Linked DNA regions of Homo sapiens: all the other regions are linked to region 5. Evidence: promoter capture Hi-C in 16 types of primary human blood cells and fetal thymus (Javierre and others, 2016). All regions are on one chromosome and are shown on one strand. Each heading gives the region's core, a stretch centred on a gene start or on the middle of the fragment in contact. The rest is flanking DNA. Distances are from core to core; before and after follow the strand shown.

Evidence for each region. The method cuts DNA at HindIII sites, captures the fragments that hold promoters and counts their contacts. A CHiCAGO score of 5 or more calls a contact.
Region 1: a fragment that was not itself captured here is called in contact with the fragment with the promoter of RPL34 in region 5 in 3 of 17 cell types (naive B cells, total B cells and monocytes); the score reaches 7.7 in naive B cells.
Region 2: a fragment that was not itself captured here is called in contact with the fragment with the promoter of RPL34 in region 5 in 1 of 17 cell types (monocytes); the score reaches 5.8 in monocytes.
Region 3: a fragment that was not itself captured here is called in contact with the fragment with the promoter of RPL34 in region 5 in 1 of 17 cell types (monocytes); the score reaches 6.6 in monocytes.
Region 4: a contact is called between a fragment that was not itself captured here and the fragment with the promoter of RPL34 in region 5, in 1 of 17 cell types (naive CD8 T cells). The highest score is 5.1, in naive CD8 T cells.
Region 6: a fragment that was not itself captured here is called in contact with the fragment with the promoter of RPL34 in region 5 in 2 of 17 cell types (non-activated CD4 T cells and naive CD8 T cells); the score reaches 5.4 in non-activated CD4 T cells.
Region 7: a contact is called between the fragment with the promoter of SGMS2 here and the fragment with the promoter of RPL34 in region 5, in 2 of 17 cell types (M2 macrophages and M0 macrophages). The highest score is 7.6, in M2 macrophages.

What each region holds. Positions count from the first base shown.
Region 1 is chr4:107,706,476-107,709,600 of GRCh38, forward strand. All of the region lies in intron 1 of PAPSS1 (3'-phosphoadenosine 5'-phosphosulfate synthase 1), which reads right to left. Among named protein-coding and RNA genes, the nearest start is that of PAPSS1, 12 kb to the right of the region's middle. The HindIII fragment of the contact is 3,967 bases long and covers 1-3,125 here.
Region 2 is chr4:109,443,136-109,445,835 of GRCh38, forward strand. The region is part of intron 1 of SEC24B (SEC24 homolog B, COPII component); the gene reads left to right. Among named protein-coding and RNA genes, the nearest start is that of SEC24B-AS1, 11 kb to the left of the region's middle. The HindIII fragment of the contact is 4,493 bases long and covers 1-2,700 here.
Region 3 is chr4:109,421,869-109,424,939 of GRCh38, forward strand. No RefSeq gene overlaps it. Among named protein-coding and RNA genes, the nearest start is that of SEC24B, 10 kb to the right of the region's middle. The HindIII fragment of the contact is 4,993 bases long and covers 1-3,071 here.
Region 4 is chr4:109,402,279-109,405,343 of GRCh38, forward strand. No RefSeq gene overlaps it. Among named protein-coding and RNA genes, the nearest start is that of SEC24B, 30 kb to the right of the region's middle. The HindIII fragment of the contact is 3,341 bases long and covers 1-2,988 here.
Region 5 is chr4:108,618,923-108,621,943 of GRCh38, forward strand. RPL34 (ribosomal protein L34) reads left to right here and starts at 1,654. Exons shown (of 5, transcript NM_001319236.2): 1 at 1,654-1,678. RPL34-DT (RPL34 divergent transcript) reads right to left here and starts at 1,535. Exons shown (of 4, transcript NR_026968.1): 1 at 1,386-1,535. RefSeq lists enhancers at 1,192-2,391, 1,617-1,666. The HindIII fragment of the contact is 3,742 bases long and covers 1,184-3,021 here.
Region 6 is chr4:107,965,848-107,968,972 of GRCh38, forward strand. The region is part of intron 1 of LOC107986298 (a long non-coding RNA gene); the gene reads right to left. Among named protein-coding and RNA genes, the nearest start is that of HADH, 22 kb to the right of the region's middle. The HindIII fragment of the contact is 4,481 bases long and covers 1-3,125 here.
Region 7 is chr4:107,823,542-107,826,543 of GRCh38, forward strand. SGMS2 (sphingomyelin synthase 2) reads left to right here and starts at 1,391. Exons shown (of 7, transcript NM_001375905.1): 1 at 1,391-1,712. The HindIII fragment of the contact is 3,698 bases long and covers 120-3,002 here.

The DNA.
Region 1 (3,125 bases), core at 563-3,062, 910 kb before region 5:
TTCAATCTGTTAAATTTCTCATGTTGGTCATTTGTTGTTTTCCAGAATACACTGAATTATTTCTATTTTATTGAGGTTTGCTGGGCTTCCTTAAACAATTATTTTTTAATTCTTTTTCAGGCAGTTCATGTATCTCCATTTCTTTTGAATCAGCTACTGGAAGGTTATTTTGATACTTTTGGTAGTATTAAGTCTCCTTGTTTTTTCACATTTCTTGTTGTCTTATATCAATATCTGTACAATGAAGAGGTAGGGACTGATTCCAGTCTTTGTAGACTGGCTTTATTTGGGAAGCACTTCACCAGTCAGCCTGTCCAATCTGGGAAGGCCATCTGGCATGGTGCACAGGCAGGCTTGCTGCTGGAGTCCTCAGGGAGGCTGGCCTGGTATCTGGGTCAGCAGGTAGGCAGAGCTCAGCTGGTGCTGGAGCGGATGTGGAAGCCTAGGTCTACAGTGGTTGGTCTGAAGCCTACCTAGAATCACAGGACCTGCCCTGAAGCCATGGGAGCTGACCTAGATGCTCAGCATATGGGTGCTGGCCTGGAACCTGGGTCCACAGAAATGGTCTTACAGCCTGGGTCAATGGGAGCTGGTATAGTGCTGAGATGTATTGGGATGGTCCTGAAACCTTGGATCTCTTAAGTATGGGGTTGCAGCAGCCAGCCTGGAGGGTGGGGCTACAGGGAATGGCCTTGTACTGGGGCAGACCTGAAGCCCAGGGCTGTGTGGGCCAACCTGGCTCTCAGCTGGTCTGAAACCTGGAGAGGGCCTGAAGCTGGGACAGCTTGAAGCCTGTATCCACAGGTGCCTGCCTGTGACAGCCAGCCTGGTACTAAAGGTAGCTCTAAGCCCAGGGCCACTGGGGCCAGCCTGGCCCTAAGACAAGTCTAAAACTTGCATCAATTGGGTCTGGCCTGGTGGTGGAGGTTGGAGGAGCTGGAACCTTGGGCTGCAGAATCCTGCTTAGTACCAGGGTAGGCTTGGACGCTCAATCCATAGGTACCATCCTGGAGTCTGGGGCTACGGGGGCCTGCCTTGCACTGAGTTTCACTGAGGTGGGCCTGGTGTTGGGTTCTGAGGCAAAATCTTTTGCTTACTGCCCTCTTCCTCCCCTAAGCAAAGGGTATCTTTCTCCACGTGCTGCCTGAGGTTGCAGGCTGGGGGCAGTAATATAGGTCATGTAAAACTGTTCTTTCTACTCTCTTCAATGTGTTTTTTCTGATTTCTCTGCTACATCCAGGTGCGGTCATCTCTCACCTGGTTTCCTTAGCTTTTATTAAAGTATTTTTGTGCAAGAATAGTTGTTCAATTTATGTTTCTGTGTGAAGACAAGCACTGGGAAGTCCCATTCTGTCATTTTGCTGACCTCCACCAATACACAGATTTGACTTTTAAGGAATTAAATTTCTATACAAATCTTCAACTTCCATGAGATTAAGGATCTCTTTTCCTACCTTCCCCTTCACAATCCTGTACAGCAGAAATGCCATCTCCCACACATCTGAATCTTATTATCATCATTACCATTACCTGAAAAATCCTCTGGGACCAAAGGGACAATTTGACAACTCTTTTTAATAGGTATGCCACAAAAGCTGCACCCCTTCCCATCTACTCATCTCATTAACAATAATTATTTACACAATAATTATTAATACTTTATTTCCAATAAAATACTTTTACATATTTAATAATCACTTACAAAAAATTGTAATGAGTCTCTAGATTCATTTCTTTTCAATAAACTGATGAAGCAAATACAACTTACCAGCTCTACATTTCCAAGAACTTAAAAAAGAGGGCTTCAGAAGTAGACATTTGTATATCTTGAGAAGCAGTGGCACCTCTTTAGCTTTAGCTCCCATTGATACTGGCTAAGGAGGAAAAGGGAGCTAAAGTCTCTGCTAAAAGGGAATTGCAGAGGGTGCTATACACATTTTGCTGCCTATACTGGTAGAACCTGTTTGGCTTGGTCATTTTGTTTGAGGATTTTTCCAAGTTACTTCACTCTTTATAGACAAGAAGAAACATATATCTAATGAATTTTAATTGATTTGGGCTCTGTAAAATATCTTCTGCTTTTCTTATCAAATCAAGCTAGAATGCATAAAAATTATCTGTCAAGCTATCAACTGCTGAGAATATGGCTGAGAAAAAATACAGACAGGGTAAGTAGAGACCGTCTGTTTTAATCTCTAAAAAGAATGCTCCCTCAGTTTCTTGCCTCCTACATTTAAAAAGATTCTGGCAGCAAACATAGTACTCTGGATATAAGGAGATTTTTTTTGGTTTATGTATGTTTGATATTGTTAAATCAAGTTAAGCCTAAAGCTACCTCTTTTACATATTTTAAGTTCAGCCTAAAGGTTTCTCCATATGTACTAAACTAACCTAGCTGGAGACAAACAGACTGTATCCACCCTTGTGCCAATGACTGAGTTTTGGCCAATCAAATGTGGCCAACTGTTCAAACCATGTTCAAATAAGTCAAATGCTGAGCTATAACCAATCCAGTTGTTTCTGGACCTCACTTCCATTTTCTGTGCACCACTTTCCTTTTTCTGTCCATAAATCTTCTACCATGCAGCTGCACTGGAGCCTCTGAGCCTACTCTGGCTCAGGAGGCTGCCTGATTCACGAATTGTTCTTTGCTCAAACTCTTTTAAATTTAATTCAGCTAAAGTTTTTAACAATATTTTTCATATTAAAAAATAAACTTAAAAAAAATTGCCACATTGTCCTAACTCCCAATTTTTCAAAGTAAATCAAAGAGCACTTTTATAAAACTACTGGAATTGAAACAGCCTTTGCAAAAATTACAAGTGAGAAAATTGTTAACAGTGAAAAAGATCTGATCTAACCAACCTCCATCTTGCCTTTAACCTCCAAACTGCCCTTAGGTATTGCTGGGTTTGGGTCAAGCTAACTTTGGGAGAAATTTAGTTTTTAGTTTAAATGATAATACTACTTCCCCAAAAGTAAACCATCTTTTAAAGCTAATAAAAGACCACCAGGTTAGGAGATGAGAGGAGCCTGAATCCTCCCAAGGTGTAAACATAAATGATTACCAGCCACTATTCCAGAAGTCACAAGATTTTCAACTTCCCCAGTTACTCCTGCAGATG
Region 2 (2,700 bases), core at 108-2,607, 820 kb after region 5:
CCCTTTCCAATGGTGACCTTACTTATTTTACTAAGAAATTGAAAGCAATCTGACAATCTGAAGATAAAGTATTAATCTTCTGCCACCAAATCTGTCAGTCTTCCTGCATATTATTCTTGTGTTATCTGAGACAAATTCAGATTATTTGGGTACAGAATTCTGTTCCCTCTCTTTTAAGAACTTTGTCCCTCCGATTATCTCATTTACCATCAATTTTGATCTTAAACACCTGAACCTTATTTTATGCAATGCATATGTAATCCTAACAGTTATATATAACTTTTATTTTAGAGACGAGATCTCACTGTGTTGCCTGGGATGGTCTCAAACTCCTAGGCTCAAGTGACCCTCCAACCTCTGCCTCCCAGAGTGCTGGGATTACAGGCATGAACCACCATGCCTGGCCTATAAATTTAATTTACAATTCCTAGCAAATATTTATGTAGCTCCTCTTTACATAACATTTTGTGCTAGATACTCTGGGCATACAAATGTGAATGTTCTCTGCACTCCAGGAGTTCTGTACCCCTCAGTAAAAGAGGAGAGGACTGTCAGCACTGAACATGTGTTTCCTTCATAAGGCCTGTGAGAAGGGTGCCCAGAGTTTTGAAGAGGAAACAATTCTTTTTGGTTAAAGTAATAGGGAATCTTAAGGGAGGAAGTTAGAACTTCAGCTATATCTAAAATGATGGACACATTTTGAATTGTCAGGTAAAAATGCATGAATCAAAGGTAAGGAATTTAAAAAACGTACTCTGAGCAGTGCAGGGGTACAAGGGAGAGAGAGTAATGAAAGAATGGTTTGGGCCCGGTGTGGTGGCTCATGCCTGTAATCCCAGCACTTTGGGAGGCTGAGGTGGGTGGATCACCTGAGGTCAGGAGTTCGAGACCAGCCTGGCCAACGTGGTAAAAACCCATCTCTACTAAAAATACAAAACTAGCTGGGTGTAGTGGCGAGTGCATGTAATCCCAGCTATTTGGGAGGCTGTGGCTGGAGAATTGTTGGAACCCGGGAGGTGGAGGTTGCAGTGAACCGTGATCATGCCATCGCCTGGGCAACAAGAGCTAAACTCCATCTCAAAAAAAAAAAAAAAAAAGAATAGTTTTTACAATTATGTTGGGGCTGCTAATGGAAGTTCCTAGAAATTGTCCTAAGAAGTTTAGACTTCATTTGGATCAAAGAAGAGCCATTAAAGATTGTGTGGTAAGGAATGTTAAAAAGTACTCTGGTGGTGTTAGTAATGAATTAGAGGGAAGTGAAAGTAGAATAAAGGGAAGTCAGGTAGAGAATTTTTCAAACCAAATCGTATTTCATATGCCCTAAAGAGATCCTGTGATTTTTTTTTTTTTTTTTTTTTGGTACAGGGACTAGACTTGCATGAAATATTTGTTTTATAAATTTTAATTTTCATGTTAGGTTTTCTTAAAGCAAGAGAATCAGTTTTCCTTTGGTGAGAATCTGGTGTCTGAAAGGAGGTTATGCTACTGAGACAGATATGTCCTGGGGGTAGATCTTGTGATAATTTAGTCCTGCTAAGGAGGGCATACATGCTTATAGAAAATCATAGGCTGTATCTTGCTGGCACATGATATATCAGTCAGGCTGACCAGCTGAGCAGCTCCATTGAAAATATTATAGACCATTTGTTAAAAATATTTTATTTCTTCATTCAGATTGGTACCAGTGAGTAGATAATGTGTCAGAATCATCTGTTTCCCTCTTTTATTTGACATAGTTCACTTGAAGCTAAGAATATAAAATTCTTTCAGAGATTATATAAAAACTGAATTTTTTTGTTTTGTTTGTTTTTGTTTTGACACAGGGTCTCACTCTGTCACCCAAGCTGGAGCGATCACTGCTCACTGCAACCTCGATCTCCTGGGGTCAGGTGATCCTCCCACCTCAGCCTCTTGAGTAGCTGGGACTACAGGTGTGCGCCACTACACCTATCTAATTTTATGTAATTTTTGTAGAGATGGAGTTTCACTCTGTTGTCCAGGCTGGTCTTGAACTCCTGGACTCAAGCAGTCTGCTGCCTCAGCCTCCCAAAGTGCTGGGATTACAAGCACGTCTGGCCATTTTTTTAGTTTTTTCTTTCTTTCTTTGTTTTTTTTTTTTTTTTTTTGAGACGGAGTCTTGTTCTGTCGCCCAGACTGGAGTGCAGTGGTGCAATCTCGGCTCACTGCAAGCTCCGCCTCCCAGCTTCACACCATTCTCCTGCCTCAGCCTCCCAAGCAGCTGGGACAACAGGCGCCCGCCACCACGCCCAGCTAATTTTTTTTTTTTTTTTTTGGATTTTTAGTAGAGATGGTGTTTCACTGTGTTAGCCAGGATGGTCTCGATCTGACCTCGTGATCCGCCCGTCTCAGCCTCCCAAAGTGCTGGGATTACAGGCGTGAGCCACGGCACCCAGCCTGTTATTTTTATTATTTTATTTTATTTATTTTTTTGAGACAGGGTCTCACTCTGTCACCCAGGCTGGAGTGCAGTGGTGCAATCTTGGCTCACTGCGGCCTCAATCTCCTGGGCTGAAGCAAGCCTAGCACCTCAGCCTCCCAAGTTACTGGGACTACAGGCACAAACCACCACACCTGCGTAATTTTTTATTTCATGTTTGTAGAGATGAAGTCTTACTATGTTGCCTGGGCTGGTCTCAAACTCCTGGACTCAAGCAATCCCCCTGCCTCAGCCTCCCAAAG
Region 3 (3,071 bases), core at 189-2,688, 800 kb after region 5:
CAAGTGATCCTCCCAGCTTAGCCTCCTAAAGTGGTGGGATTACAGATGTGAGCCACCGCGCCCAGCTCAGAAAGTAGATTCTTTTTATTTTATTTTATGATTTTAAGTTCCAGGGTACATGTATGGGATGTGCAGGTTTTTTACATAGGTAAACATGTGCCATGGTGGTTTGCTGCATCTATCAACCCATCATCTAGGTACTAAGTCCAGCATGCATTAACTATTTTTCCTGGTGCTCTCCCTTCCCCCACTCCCCCTGACAGGCCCCAGTGAGAAAGTAGATTCTTAATGTTGAAATTTTAGGTGTGGGACAAGGGGACTATAAAGATAAACAGAAATGGATGTAGATACAGAGTTTCCTGTACTCTCAGATGAGACGACTGCATAAACAGCTTTACTTAAGCAGATTCATGGTGCTGGGACTGTTCAAAAAGTGTTGCATGCTATGTAGTGCGAAGTTGAAGGATTCTAGCAGCATTAAAGAAAATGTTAATTTATTTGGTTCCATCTCATCCTAGTCAATAAGTCAACACATACAAATTGTTCCCCTTTTTGATTGCCTAGAAGTAAGCACTTTTATCTATTCAGTTTTTAGATTCCTATGCATTGCTTTCAAATCAATTGCATGAATGGAAAACTCTTCTCATTAATCACATTCCTCTCCACGCCAGCGAAGTCTCCTCAAGTCAGAGCACATCTACACATCGTCCACCAGATGGCGGTGGAAGCCCACCGACATTGTAGACTACGTAGGAAGAGCGTCCAGATGGAAAAGCGGGTTGGGGCTTTCTGGTCTGGTTTTTTTGTTTTGGGTTTTTGTTTGTTTGTTTTTGTTTTTTGTTTGTTCGTTTGTTTAAGACGGAGTTTCGCTCTGTCGCCCAGGCTGGAGTGCAGCAGCGCGATCCTGGCTCACTGCAACTTCCGCTTCCCGGGTTCAAGCGATTCTCCTGCCTCAGCCTCCCAAGCCCTGGGACTACAGGCGCAGGCCACCACTACGGGCTAATTTTTGTATTTTTAGTAGAGACGGGGTTTCATCATATTGGCCAGGTTGGTCTCAGACTCCTGACCTTGTGATCCGCCCACCTCGGCCTCCTAAAGTGCTGGGATTACAGGCGTGAGCCACTGCGCCCCGCTTCTGGTCTGTTTGTAAAACTAATCATTTCGGGAGGCTGAGGCAGGAGAATTGCTTGAACCGGGGAGGCGGAGGTTGCAGTGAGCTGAGATTGCGCCATTGCACTCCAGCCTGGTGACAGAGCGAGACTCCATCTCAAAACAAAAACAAAAACAAAATTAAGCATTAAAACGAAGAGGACTGTTGGATTTTAGAGCCTCAGATACGGGGCTTTTTTTAAAAGTCCATTTTTTTTTAAATTGTTAGAAAGATATGGCAATGACAAAGTAATATAAGTGATCTAATTAGATTATATTTTTTCTTGTTTTAAATTCTGGGTAATCTGTCCATTGAAGCTACTTGGCTGGGGAAGCAATTGAAAGTGTCATTCCTCAGTATGCTTGAAATCTCTCATACCCTTCATGCCCAACTAAGATATATAAGAGAAAATCCTGTTAGTGGCCATCAGCAGCTGCTGGAGAATGCACCTTTATATCCAGATTCTGGAATCTTTCAGGCAACCCTGCCTTCTTCCTCTTTGACTTCTATTTCTCATTCAACTCACCAGATTATTGGGATAATCATGTGTGTGGAGAAGATTCTCAATCTCTTTGAGTTTCAGATTTCTCATCTGCAGAATTAAAGTGTGTACTTTTTTGAGGAAATAATACATGAACATACATAGAACAATGCCTGGCACAGCCTAAATGCTCCAGAAATGGGAACTATTATTTTTTCCTCAGACTTTTACCTTATTTTGAAAGTAAGCAGGCTGGGCACGGTGGCTCATGCCTATAATCTCAGCACTTTGGGAGGCCGAGGCAGGTGGATCACCTGAGGTCGGGAGTTCGAGACCAGCCTGACCAACATGCAGAAACCCCATCTCTACTTGTGGGCGGAAAGCCACCCAGGTGCTGAGGCAAGAGACTGAAGGCACAAGCTGTTCCAGTATAATAAAAGAAAATAATTAGAATACAAAAAGTTATACTAAAAATAAGATATAGACATGATTATATATGAATATTATCAATCTTTAGTTGGTAGTGTTGCTCTTTTAGTATTATAATAATCTCTGTTTTATAATCATAACCTAGAAAACACCAGGCCATACAGAGTCAGGAGCTGAAGGGACATGGTGAGAAGTAACCAAAGGACAAGAGTGTGAGCCCTCTGTCACGCCCGGATAAGGGCCGCTTGAGGGTTCCTTGGTCTAGCGGTAAGGTCAGTGCCTGGGAAAGCACCCATTACTTGGCAGACCTTGGTCTAGCGGTAGGGCCAGTGCCTGGGAAGGCACCCGTTACTCGGCAGACCTTGGTCTAGCGGTAGCGCCAGTGCCTGGGAAGGCACCCGTTACTTAGCAGACCGGGAAAGCGAGTCTCCCTTTCCCCGGGGGGAGTTAGAGAACACTGCTCCACCAACTCTTGTGGGAGTCCTGACATTAGCCAGGCCTGCCCGCAGTCATCTGGAGGCTTAAACATCTGTGGTGCTGTGCTTCAGTGGTCATGCTCCTTGTCCACTTTCATGTTCTGCCTGTACACCTGGCACCTCCTTTTAAGTTCTTAAAAGATAGCAGTAACAAAATTAGTGAAAGTACTAAAGTCTTTGATCTTCCTGATAAGTGCACAGAAGAAATGCTGACATATACTGTCCTCCCTCTCTGCTTCAGCTATCACAAAGGGAAAGGCCCCCCGTCACGTGGACACGTGACTTGCTTGACCTTATTAATCATTTGAGATGACTCAAACTCCTTACCCTGCCCCCTTGCCTTGCATACAATAAATAGCAGTGTGTCCAGGCATTCAGGGTCACTACCAGGCTTCGCGCATTGGTGGTAGTGGTCCCCTGGGCCCAGCTGTGTTTCCTTCTATTTCTTTGTCTCATGTCTATTTTTCTACAATCTCTCATCTCTGCACACTAAGGAAAAACCCACAGGCCCTGTAGGGCTGGACCCTACACTACT
Region 4 (3,065 bases), core at 68-2,567, 780 kb after region 5:
ACAGAAAAACAGGCACAATGGACATATCATAAAATTTCAGAACTCTAAGAAGAAAAATAATTTCCTAAACTCTCAGAGAGAATAAAACTAATTACATGCAAAGGATTGGAAATATGATCCTTTATCTCTTTTAGAGAAAAATACTGAATATTTACAATAAAACAGAGTAATTCTGGATTTTGATTTAAAATAATTGAAAGTTGGCCATGTGTGGTGGCTCACACCTGTAATCCCAACACTTTGAGAGGCCGAGGTGGGCAGACTGCTTTAGCCCAGGAGTTTGAGACCAGCCTGGGCCACATGGCAAAACCCCATCTCTACAGAAAATTAGCCAGGCGTGGTGGTGCACACCTATAATCCCAACTACTCAGGAGTCTGAGGTGGGAGGATTCCTTGAGGCCAGGAGTTCAAAGCTGCAGTGAACCATGATCGCACCACTACACTCCAGCCTGAGTGACAGAGCCAGACCCTGCCTCAAAAAAGGAAGTAAATAAACAAATAAAATAAAATAATTAAAAGGTCAGAAGTGGGGGATGTGCTGTAGAGGCAATGCAACTGGCTATACATTGACAATTGTGGAGTGATGGGTACATGGGAATTCATTATATTATATATTCATCATATAATTCTCTTTGAACATATTTTAAATTTTCTATAATACAGAGTTCTTTTTATAAACAAAGAAGGAATGATAGGAATGATTTAGATTTCTTAGCAACACCGGAAGCAAGAAGACAATGAAGCAATGGCTTCAAACTCCTGAAAGAAAACTATTTCCAAAGTAGAATTCTATACCTAGACAAACTGTAAATCAAGTGCAAGGGAAGTGCCCAAACAGATGAATCGGCCTTAGCTGAATCAATGGCTGTCCATCCATTTCTCTTGGAAGTAAGACAGAGTATTTGGATACTGAAACAAGTAGGTTTGTATATTTGATAATGGAAATAGGAGGTATTTCTCTTTAATGTGCTTCTGATTGCTTTACTTTGAGGAACTCATATCTAATGGAAAACATGGATGTATAAACAGGTAATGTTTATGTGTACCAAAACAAAATATACTAAGTTCTCCAATAGAGCTATGTTTAGCAGCTTATGGGACTCCAGCTTTGTGCCTCAAGAAAGGATTTATGGAGCTAGTAATGCCCGAGATAAGCCTTAAAGAATGTATAGCAGTTACACAAGTAAAGAAGGAAGGAAAAAGTATTCAAGGTGGTGAAATCACAATTAATAAAGGCATAAAGGAATAAAACATCATGGTGTATGTAGAATACTAGCACAGAACCAAACACAAGGTTGGGCCCCGTGGTTCACGCCTGTAATCCCAGCACTTTGGGAGGCCAAGGCAGGAGGATCACTTGAGGCCAGGAGTTCGACAACAGCCTGAGCAACACAGCAAAACCTTGTCTCTACAAATATTTTTTTTAAAAAAACTAGCTGGGTGTGGTGGCATGTGCTGTGGTCCTAGCTCCTCAAGAGGCTGAGGCAGAGGATCGCTTGAGCCCCAGCAGTCAAGGCTGCAGTGAGCTGTGATCATGCCACTGCGCTACAGCCTGGGTGACAATAATGCTTATTGACATGGACCTGGCATATCTAGTGAGACTAGAGATCATAGATGAAATTGGAAAGTATTATGCAGCTATTGGTTATCTGAATGTTGGGTTTATTGTCATGAAACAGCAGAGTCAGGAAACAAGGTGTTGGCCAGGCGCGGTGGCTCACACCTGTAATCCCAACACTCTGGGAGGCCGAGACGGGCGAATCACTTGAGGTCAGGAGTTTGAGACCAGCCTGGCCAACATGGCAAAACTCCATCTCTACTAAAAATACAAAAATTAGCCAGGCATTGTGGCACACGCCTGTAATCCCAGCTACCCAGGAGGCTGAGGCAGGAGAATTGCTTGAACCCGGGAGACGGAGATTGCAATGAGCCAAGATCTCACCACTGCACTCCAGCCTGGGTGACAGAGTGAGACTCCAGAAAAAAAAAAAGAAAGAAGGAAGGAAGGAGAGAAAGAGAGAGAGAGAGAGGAAAGAAAGAAAGAAAGAAAGAAAGAAAGAAAGAAAGAAAGAAAGAAAGAAAGAAAGAAAGAGAAGGAAGAAAGAGAGAGAAGGAAGGAGGGAAAGAAGGAAGGAAGGAAAGAAGGAAGGAAGGAAGGAAAGAAAGAAAGAAGAAAGAAGGAAAGAAAGAAAGAAAGAAAGAAAGAAAGAAAGAAAGAAAGAAAGAAAGAAAGAGAAAGAAAGAAAGAAAGAAAAGAAAGCAAGAAAGCTAAAAACTGTATTCTGCAGTAGAAGTTAAGGATCTAGAAAGTTTAGGAAACAACCAAGATGGTAAGTTCCTTAAGATCTTAAATGTAAACTGGTAGAAGTCTCCTACCAGTGGACTTCTACACTCAGTCTTAGGAATAGTCTGGATGGCTCACAGTTCACAAATTTGTTTACTAAGGTTGAATTTAGCCCTGGCTTATATTTCATTTATTTAATTCAGCAATGTTTATCATCATTTATTCATTTGCCAGTTGATTCTACAAAAAATTTTAAGCACCTATTTATATAGACACTGTTGACATAAAACAGTCTTTGTGGTGTCTATAGTCCAATGAGAGAGGCAGATGCTAAAGAAATATAGGCACAATTAATACATAAAAGGCATTTTTATGTGGCACACAGTCCATACCATATGACCCAACCAGAAGGTTCAAGTATTTCAGTACAATTTAGGTCAACTTCAATATTAAAAATACTTCCTAAGTACAATAGTAATTTTTAGTGCATATTATAAACAAGGGCCAAGAAAAAAAAACCCTAATTTGATCTTTATATTTGTTAGTTCTTAATGAAAATACTAATTGCTCTTTACCCATTTCTGTGAAACTCTAAATTTTTATTTGTGATGAGTCCAGGTCTATTGGATAGACTTTCAGCATTAGTAAAATGACAGAACATATTACAGGGAAAGTATAAGAACATACAGATTCATTTTCTTTTAAGCTTGGAAACAGGATTCTTTGACTCAAATAGGGCTTCTGTTTGGTGAATTAATGGGTCACCATAACCAAATAATTG
Region 5 (3,021 bases), core at 404-2,903:
AGAAAAAATGCAAATACAAATTTAAAGAGAGGGAAAAATAGTATTATGGAACTGGGTTAAGTACCTTAAGGGAAAACTACAACAATGAGACCACTATTCTTATCTACTTGGGTGGGGGAAGGCACGGACAGAGACGTAAACAACAGCATAGTGTGCCAAGGGCTCCCATCTCCTGTTCTCTTCTGCTCTGCAAAGTCTCTCTTAAAATATAGAGAACATATTGCAAGTAAATACATTCATTAGTGCATTTATTCAAAAACCACATTTGTCTCTCTATGCAAGCTTCCATCTCAATGCCTGGCACAGAGACGAAAAGGATTTCAGAGGACAAAAATCAAAGGACTGGAAAGGAGGGAAGTAGCTGATGACAAGGTCGGGGGAGAAGCAGCTATTTGAGAGTGAGCAGAGGGAAGGATATAACCAGAGCCTTCCATCTGGTGTTGTGACAAAGATGGCAGTGATGTGAGGCTTGATAGAATCAATAGGCCTCACAGTTCAAGACAGACTACATGCCCTCAGTCACTTGCCTGCTTTCTTGGTTTGCTAGATGGATTAGAAATACTAGAAGGAAAGTTGAGTGGGTACTGGGATATCCTATCCAAATCCTCTCTTCTGGGGCAATGCAGCTGCCTCACAGCAACCACGTTGTGGATCACCTGACCCCGCCTTTCTCAGCTTCCTGGAGGTGCATTCTAAGAGCGCTCCCCATAAGCCAACACTCAAGTCTCTTCGAGGTGTGTTTCCAGGGAGCCTGATCTAAGATTAAAAACTTAAAGGCCCCTTTTAGAATTGTCTTTTACAGCCCAGGCAAAGAGTTCTTTACTTTTTTAGAGGTCATGAATCCCTTTGACAAGGTGATGAAAGCCAGGGACCCTCTTCTCAGAAAAATACACACGTGCGCTTAATGTAAAATTTTACATACTGTTTTAAAGGTTAAACTTTACCACCCATGAAAAGCCTCAAGTAGTTCTTTGTACATAATCATAAGATTAGCAACCATTTACTGAGCACTTCCTCTCTATAAGACCCTGTGCTAAGTGCTTTAACTTCATAATGCCTTTGATCATGACATAACATGGCACGGTAGTTCCTAATATCTTCCTTTTAGAGATTTAAGGGCTTGCTCAAAGTAACATAGCTAATAATTAGCAGACACTGGATTAAAATCCCAATTTGTTTGTAAAGCTTGTGCTCTGAATAAATGACAAGGAAAGAGAAGGGAAGGTTGAAGAAGGGAAGGTTCTTGAAGGTCCCTGGTCCTTGAAGGTCCCTTAACCATAAATGTCAAGAGTTGGGATTTAAACCCAGGTCTAACGCCAGAGCTGGCGCCCTTTAGATTAAAAGTGCAGTGTCCATGACAACGAAAGAAGTTGATTTTGTCCCACCTTTGCTCTTTGCGGCTTTTCATTTGCGTTTGTTTCCACAGCGATTTCCAATAGATTTCTGCGTGGCCTTGACACAGACAGCTAGTGTGAATCCCCGCCCACAGAGGGGCGGCACGTTGGTTGCCGTACAACGTGGTGGTTCCCTGCATCTCTGCCCACGTCGGAGAGGTGCGTCGGCTTCCGTACAACACGGATACTCTCTCTCTGACGCAACTTCCTGTCCTGCGCAATTCTATTTGACCTTTGAACTGGCAAAGGCTTTTTTCTTCCTCTTCCGGGGACGTTGTCTGCAGGTATGGATGTTGTTCTCTTTTCCCTGTCTTTATTTCCTTACCAATCGGCTGCCATCCGAGGAGCTGAGGAAGCCTAGAGCTCTCAGAAGCAGTCCTTTGAGCTGGTGTAGGGGTAAGGGGCACAACAGGGAGGTTGGTGGTGAGGAAGTTCCTTACTTTGATCTTTGGAAATCCCTTGTTCCTGGTGGCACCTCCAAAGCCGTGAGTAGCCACAGCTCACCACCCGGGACTTTGCTGCATTCCAAGTGTAGCGTTTGGAGACTAACGAGTTGTGGTTTGGCGGTTTGAGTCTGGAAAATCGCCAAACGTTTTCATATTTTACACCCACGTTTTCACAGCACGCCTGTACGTGTCCTTAGTCTTTGGGAGGGCAGGGTCCGGCGAGTTCGGGTGGTTTCGCTATTTGGCTTCTGCGTCCAAGGCCCATGTCAAGGAAGAGAAAAATGTGTTAGAAGTTTCTGTCTTGCTTTTGGAGATGCAAACAGAATAATGGCTTCATAAATCACTCGCACTGGTTTTACGTGTCAAGTTTTGGTGTCTGGTAATTCTGTTTTAGTTTAATTTTAGTGAGAGGCTTGTGACAACAAATGAGGTGGTTACAAGGGGTGGAATGGGAAGATTAAATTAGTTCAAGTATTGATTATGTTTTACGTTGGGTAGTTCCCTTAACGAAGTTGCTCGTATGCATATCTGTATAACCGATTTGCTAAATAACATCACGATGTTTCCAGAAGTGGGAAGAAAGCAGGTGCCATAACCCAAAGAAACTTGTGTAATATCAAAATTAGTATTAAAGGGTATGCCTTTACGCAGGTGGTGCTTTAGGGCAAGACATTGAACCCTGATATGTGCCAGGCATTGTGTTGGGACGGATAGCCCACGTCGTTTAATCCTAATGACAGCTGTATAAAGTAGACAGAATTCCCATGTTAGAGATAAGGAGGCTAGCTCCTTGCCCTTTATATTCCCAGTAAATGGCATAGCTAAGGATTCGACTTCAGAGCTCACTTTTTGTGCTCTTTGTTTAAAGCGGTGTTTCTCCAACTGGGCTCGTGGCACTTTTCTGGACACCACTCCAAACAAAATTAGACTCTGAGTAAGGAGCCTGGTCATCAGAACGTTAAGGAAGTGCCACGTTTGATTACCATCAGGAAAGCTAACATTCTTGGCCTCTTGTTTATCAGTCACCTTTAAATACAAGTAGTTTTAAAATGTGGAATAATACATCTTAATTTAAGGGTGTTACATACAAGGATATGTATGTGAATGAAATAGACCACATGATACTGTTTTGAGATTTTATTTACTTTTACAATGGAAAGATTTGATGTTACTCTATTCTT
Region 6 (3,125 bases), core at 262-2,761, 650 kb before region 5:
GTACACACACACACACACACACACACACACACACACAATGGAATATTATTCAGCCTCAGGAAAGAATGAAATTTTGCCATTTGCAACAACATGGATGAACCTGGAGGATATTATGCTAAATGAAATAAGGCAGACACAGAAAAACAAATACTGCTTGATCCCATTGATGTGTGAAACCTAAAATAGTCGCACTCATAGAATTATAAAGCGAATGGTGGTTGCCAGGGGCAGTAGGGAGGGAGAAACGGTAATGCTGGTCAAAGGATAAAAAGTTTCAATATGCAGGATGAATACGTTCTACAGATCTAATGTACAGCCTGGTGGCTATGATTAACAATATTCCTTACTTGAAATTTTCTAAGAAGTAGATCTTAAATGTTTTTGCCACAAAAAAAGATAATAATAAAAGAAGAAAAAGAAAATGGTAACTTGGTGAGGTGATAGATATGTTAATTGGTTTGATTGTGAAGACCATTTCACAATGTATACATACATCAAAACATCAAGTTGTATACCTTAAATATGTACAATTTTTATCCATCAATGTTCTTCAATAAGGCTGTTTAAAGAAAAAAAGAAAAAATCCAACTCTTAAAAAAATAATAGAATCAATCAGAAAACTAAAACAGCATACACTTAATGACATAAAAATAGAAAACTCTTGTATTCCAAAAAACGGCTGGCAAATCATGAAAAAATGTTTGTATCAGCCTTGCCAAAAATTCAATATCCTTAATATATAAAGTGCTTATAAGTCAGTGCTTATAAATCCATATATACTATAATATATAGTATCTTTAATATTTTCATATACTATAGCATAGTATTTCTTCTAGTGAACTGTAAGTGCTATAATTCAGTAGTAGAATACCCTAATTTTAAAAACAGGCAAAAGATACAAATTATTGTGTTAAACTTTTAAGTTCAGGGGTACATGTGCAGGTTTGTTACATAGGATAACTGTGTCATGGTGATACAGGAGTTAAGAAGAAATCACTTAGGCAGATAGTGAGGGTACAGAAGTCCTCGGTAAGGCTTTTCTCTTTAATGAAAAGCAGCCCCAAATCATTGTCTAACAAAGAGCAGCCTGTAAAGTCAAGCGGCAGACATAGACGAGGAAGCTGGGAGCTTGCATGGGTGAATGCTGGCAGGAACTAGGGGCTAGACATGTTTAAGATGGCAGCTTCATCTTCCCTTCTCTGCCAGCCATGTGTACAGTAAGAAGCAGACAAGATGGCTCAGATCAACTGGAAAGCCCATTTGCATAATAAGATTAGGGTGAGACAACCGGCCTTTCCCCATCTGCTATGTAAATGTCATACCTGATCGAACCTATCTGTGAACCCTTTGTAAATCAGACACTGCCTCCTCAAACCTGACTATAAAATTCAATGCCACCTGCAGGTCTTTTCCATTCAGGGACCCCACTCTCTCTATAGAGAAAGCTGTTTCTCTTTCTCTTCTCTTCTGCCTATTAAACCTCCACTCCTAAACTCCTCTTGTTTGTCCATGTCTTAACATTTTCCTGGTGCACGACCATGAACCCCAGGGTATATACCCCAGACAACATAGTCACTTCTATGGGGGTTTATTGTACAGATTATTTCATCACCCAGGTATTAAACCTAGTACCCATTAGTGATTTTTCCTGATCCTCTCCCTCCTCCCACCCTCCACCTTGAGATAGGCCCCAGTGTGTGTTGTTCCCCTCTATGTGTCCATGTGTTCTTATCATTTAGCTCCCACTTATAAGTGAGAGCATGAGGTATTTGGTTTTCTGTTCCTGCATTAGTTTGCTAAGGATAATGGCCTCCAGCTCCATCCACATCCCTGTGAAGGATATGATCTCATTCTTTTTTATGGCTGCATAGTATTCCATGTTGTATATGTACCACATTTTCTTTACCCAGTCTATCATTGATGGGCATTTAGATTGACTCCATGTTTTTGCTATTGTGAATAGTGCTGCAATGAACATGTGTGCATGTGTCTTTATAATATAATGATTTATATTCCTTTGGGTATATATCCAGTAATAGATTGCTGGCTCAAAAAGTAGTTCTGTCTTTAGGTCTCTGAGGAATCACCACACTGTCTTCCACAATGGTTGAACTAATTTACACTCCCATCAACAATGTATAAGCATTCCTTTTTCTCCACAACCTCACTAGCATCTGTTATTTTTTTATTTTCTTAACAGCCAATCTTACTGGTGTGAAATGGTTTCTCACTGTGGTTTTGATTTGCATTTCTCTAATGATTAGCGATACTGAGCTTTTTTATATAATTGTTGGCCACATGTATGTCTTCTTTTGAGAAGTGTCTGTTCATATCCTTTGCCCACTTTTTAATGAGATTGTTTGTTTTTTCTTGTAAATTTGTTTAAGTTCCTTATAGACTTTTGATATCAGACCTTTGTTGAATGTAGTTTGCAAAATTTTTCTCCCATTCTGTGGGTTGTCTGTTTACTCTGTTGATAGTCTCTTTTGCTGTATAGAACCTCTTTAGTTTAATTAGATCCCATTTGTCAATTTTTGCTTTTGTTGCAATTGCTTTTGGTATGTTTATCATGAAATCTTTGCCAGTGCCTATGTCCTGAATGGTATTGCCTAGGTTATCTTCTAGAGTTTTTATAGTTTTGGGTTTTACATTTAAGTCTTTAATCCATCTTGAGTTAATTTTTGAGATATAATTTTTTTTTTGAGACAGTCTCTCTCTGTCACCCAGGCTGGAGTGCAGTGGCTCAAACTCGATTCACTGCAACCTCCACCTCCTAGGTTCAAGCAATTCTTGTGCCTCAGCCTCCCGAGTAACTGGGATTACAGGCACGTGCCACCACCCCCAGCTAATTTTTATATTTTTAGTAGAGACAAGGTTTCACCCTGTTGGCCAGACTGGTCTCGAACTCCTGGCCTCAAGTGATCCACCTGCCTCAGCCTCCAAAGTGCTGGGATTACAGGCATCAGCCACCATGCCTGGCCAAAAATTTTTAGGAATACAAATGGCCAATAATATAAAACATTTTTCAAATTCATTGAAATGGAACTATTACAGTGAGACACCATTTTTAACCATTGAATTTTAAAGATATTTTTGAAAAAGGAAAATACTAAGTATTGATAAGA
Region 7 (3,002 bases), core at 141-2,640, 800 kb before region 5:
TTTTTTTTTCCTATAGAGTTGTTGGAGCTCCTCATATATTCTGGTTATTAATCCCTTGTCAGATGGATAGTTCCCATTCTGTGGGTTGTCTCTTCAGTTTGTTTCCTTTGCTGTGCAGAAGCTTTTTAGCTTAATATGATCCCATTTGTCCATTTTCTTTGGTTGCCTGTACTGTGACGACATCTTGAAGTTGCGAGTTTGGGGATTGCCTGCCTTGTATATTCTTTTCTGTTACCATCATCTTTAATAGCCACAAATGACTGTTGACCCACATGATATCTGCACTAGAAACCCAAAGATTCCCGTCATTATTTTTGTTGATTATATGGAAGCACCCATAAACCAGCGCAAATCCTAAACATAATTATCTTGTCCAGAAGGAGACATTAATGTAAAACTTATGTCAAGAAAGATTTAGCCACATTCCCTCGGATTGGTCATTCCTAGTTAGAGTCCTTGAGGCTGCCATCGTTTACTTTGAAAACTGCCCAGCAGGTGTATGAATAGCAACTCCAGGACAATGTAGAACCATTACCATTTTAAAGACAGCAATCCCCCTTTTAAAAAACTACTGAGGCCTTCGAAGAAACCACACGGCTGCCTTGGGCCCCAAAAGCTGCGGAAAAGCGCAGTATTCAGTTAAGCAAATAACTACTTACACTGTTTATTTTGGTTACGATTCCTTAAGTGAGAAGTAAATCAATTAACAGGACAAATGACACGATGGTTAGGCACGAAAGGGACAGTGCTGCCACCTCATTAGCTTGGAGCAACCTTCCAGCTCATACCATGCGGACTGATGACTAACCTTGCCAGGCAACGCTGTGAGGTTTGGAAACCCACCTCTTTGACCTAGGCCCGGTCAACACCGATAAACCCTCTGAATCAACGCTGGCGCTCCCAAGCCCACTCACACGCCGTCAGGAAGCAGTTTCCGAAACAGGCCGGGTGCGGGGGTGGGGGATCCCGTTCCAGCCCCACCCCTGAAAGTTGCTGGGAGTGGCACCCAAAGAACTTTCCCAGATTGATCTCTGTTGCCGCTCAGGGAGGTCAGCTCCAGGCCCTCAGCCTTTCGGCCGGGAGCCAAACTGCCCTGCCTGCCAAGCCCCTCCTTCTCTGCACCTTAAACAGCCGCGAGGGGAGAGTCGGCTGGGATTTTCTTCTTAAGAAGTCGCGCAGGTTTTTCGAGCTCCACTCTGCGCCAGGAGAGCCACGGCAGCAGGAACGGGCACTGCTGCCACCGGGCCGACGGGTGAGTCACTGTTTGGAAATGGAGTGGGCGGGCGAGGGTGTGAGAGAATGAATGATGTCAAGAGCGCGCTGGGCGCAGGGCGCAGGGAGCGGGCCGCGCGCGGCGGGCGGGGAGAGCGGGCGCGGGGCCGCGGTCAACACTGAGCGCCGCGCCGTGGGCCGAGTGGGGCGGGGAGACCCAGCCCTCGGCGCGCACGGAGCCTGGCCGGTGCTGCAGCGCCGCCGAGTGCGGCCTCGGGGGCGGCGGCCGCGGGAGGGACCCGGAGAGCTGCTTCCCCTAGTCAGGCCGCGGCGTGGGAGGGCGAGACCCCGAGCAAACTTTCTAGCGGCTTCGGCCCGAGGGTGGTGACGCCCGGGGCTGGTCGCGGCGGCTGCGGCAGCGGGCTCCATCCCCTGGCAAATCCCCTTCCCGGGAGCAAGTGCCTTCAGCTGGGAGTGTCTGGAGCCCTGGCCACCAGCGGGTAAGGAGCGCGCGGAGGGGCCAGGAGGAGGATGGGCTGGGGAGCGGAGAGTCCTCCGAAGCGCGGGAGGGGAAAGGTGGATTGCGAAGCGGGGACGTGGCTCTAATCCGGCCCCCACCCTCCCCGCCCAGGGCATGCTTCCTCGATTTTGTGGTCTGGAGGAGAGATGTGTGCCTTAGTCTCCTTCCTCTGAGCAGTCATCTCATTCATTTGCAACCCATTTCGGGTACCCCGGTCCTGGCGTTGGAAGGGCACAGGTTAAACCCCAGATTGTCCAGAACCACTCCGGAGGTCAGGGCTGAAGTTCAGTTGGTGGAGGAGGGACTGTGTGTGTGTGTTTGTGTGTGTGGTTTTTCTTTTCTTTCTCTTTTTTTTTTTTTTTTTTTTTGAGAGGCACTTACTGATGATGTGTGAACAGTAACAGCCCAGCTCTGGGCAGCCCACACCGAAACCCTTCAACGTGTGGCATTCCAGAGCTGCTCCCTTTACGGAAGGGAAGACTTGGTTTCTCAGCGAAAATAAGGGGCGGGGAACCCCTGTCAACATCCATCCAGAGGTATGGATAATCATTAATTATCCACGGCTTGAAACCAACTCAAAATGTTATGTCCTGTAGTCTTTTTTATTTATTAATGTTGCCGGTCCTCTATTTCAAGTCTTGCCTGCTCTGAAATGACCTTAAAATCATTTTGACATGTGTGTTATATTTTGAAGAGATTCAACTGTTTAGTGTCACTGGATTCGGCGTGGGTTTTCAATCTGTACCTAACTTTTCAAATCCTTGGTTTCATTACCAGTCTCCTCTATTAACGGTGGGTGCTCAGGCACATTAAACATTCTGAACCAGTAAAATGGGATTATAGCTACTTCAGATAATAAGGTGGATTAAATAAGGATTAATAATGAGGATAATAATGAGGATTAAAGCGCAAAAGACTTCTCATAATGTCTGGTACAAAGCAGACCCCAACAAATTATAGCTGTTTATATATAAATAATAGTGTGTTGCAGCTGGCTTAGGTAATAACCAATTAATTTCCACAGAATGTCCTCCTTATAAGCCTGGTGGGCCGAGGGTTAGCATGTGAAATCCTTTGGCAAGTTCCTTAGATTGGGAAGTGATGTTTTCAGCAAGTTAAACATTTTTAGTACGGATACCTGAGAAGGTTATGGTTTCCATCCTGTGTCATGGGAACTGCCATTTACTGTTTAAACAATGTCAGAGCAATGGCTGAAAGTGACAACCTGGAATTTACAGGAAGAAAGGACGTGAGGAAGCTAACTTTACCT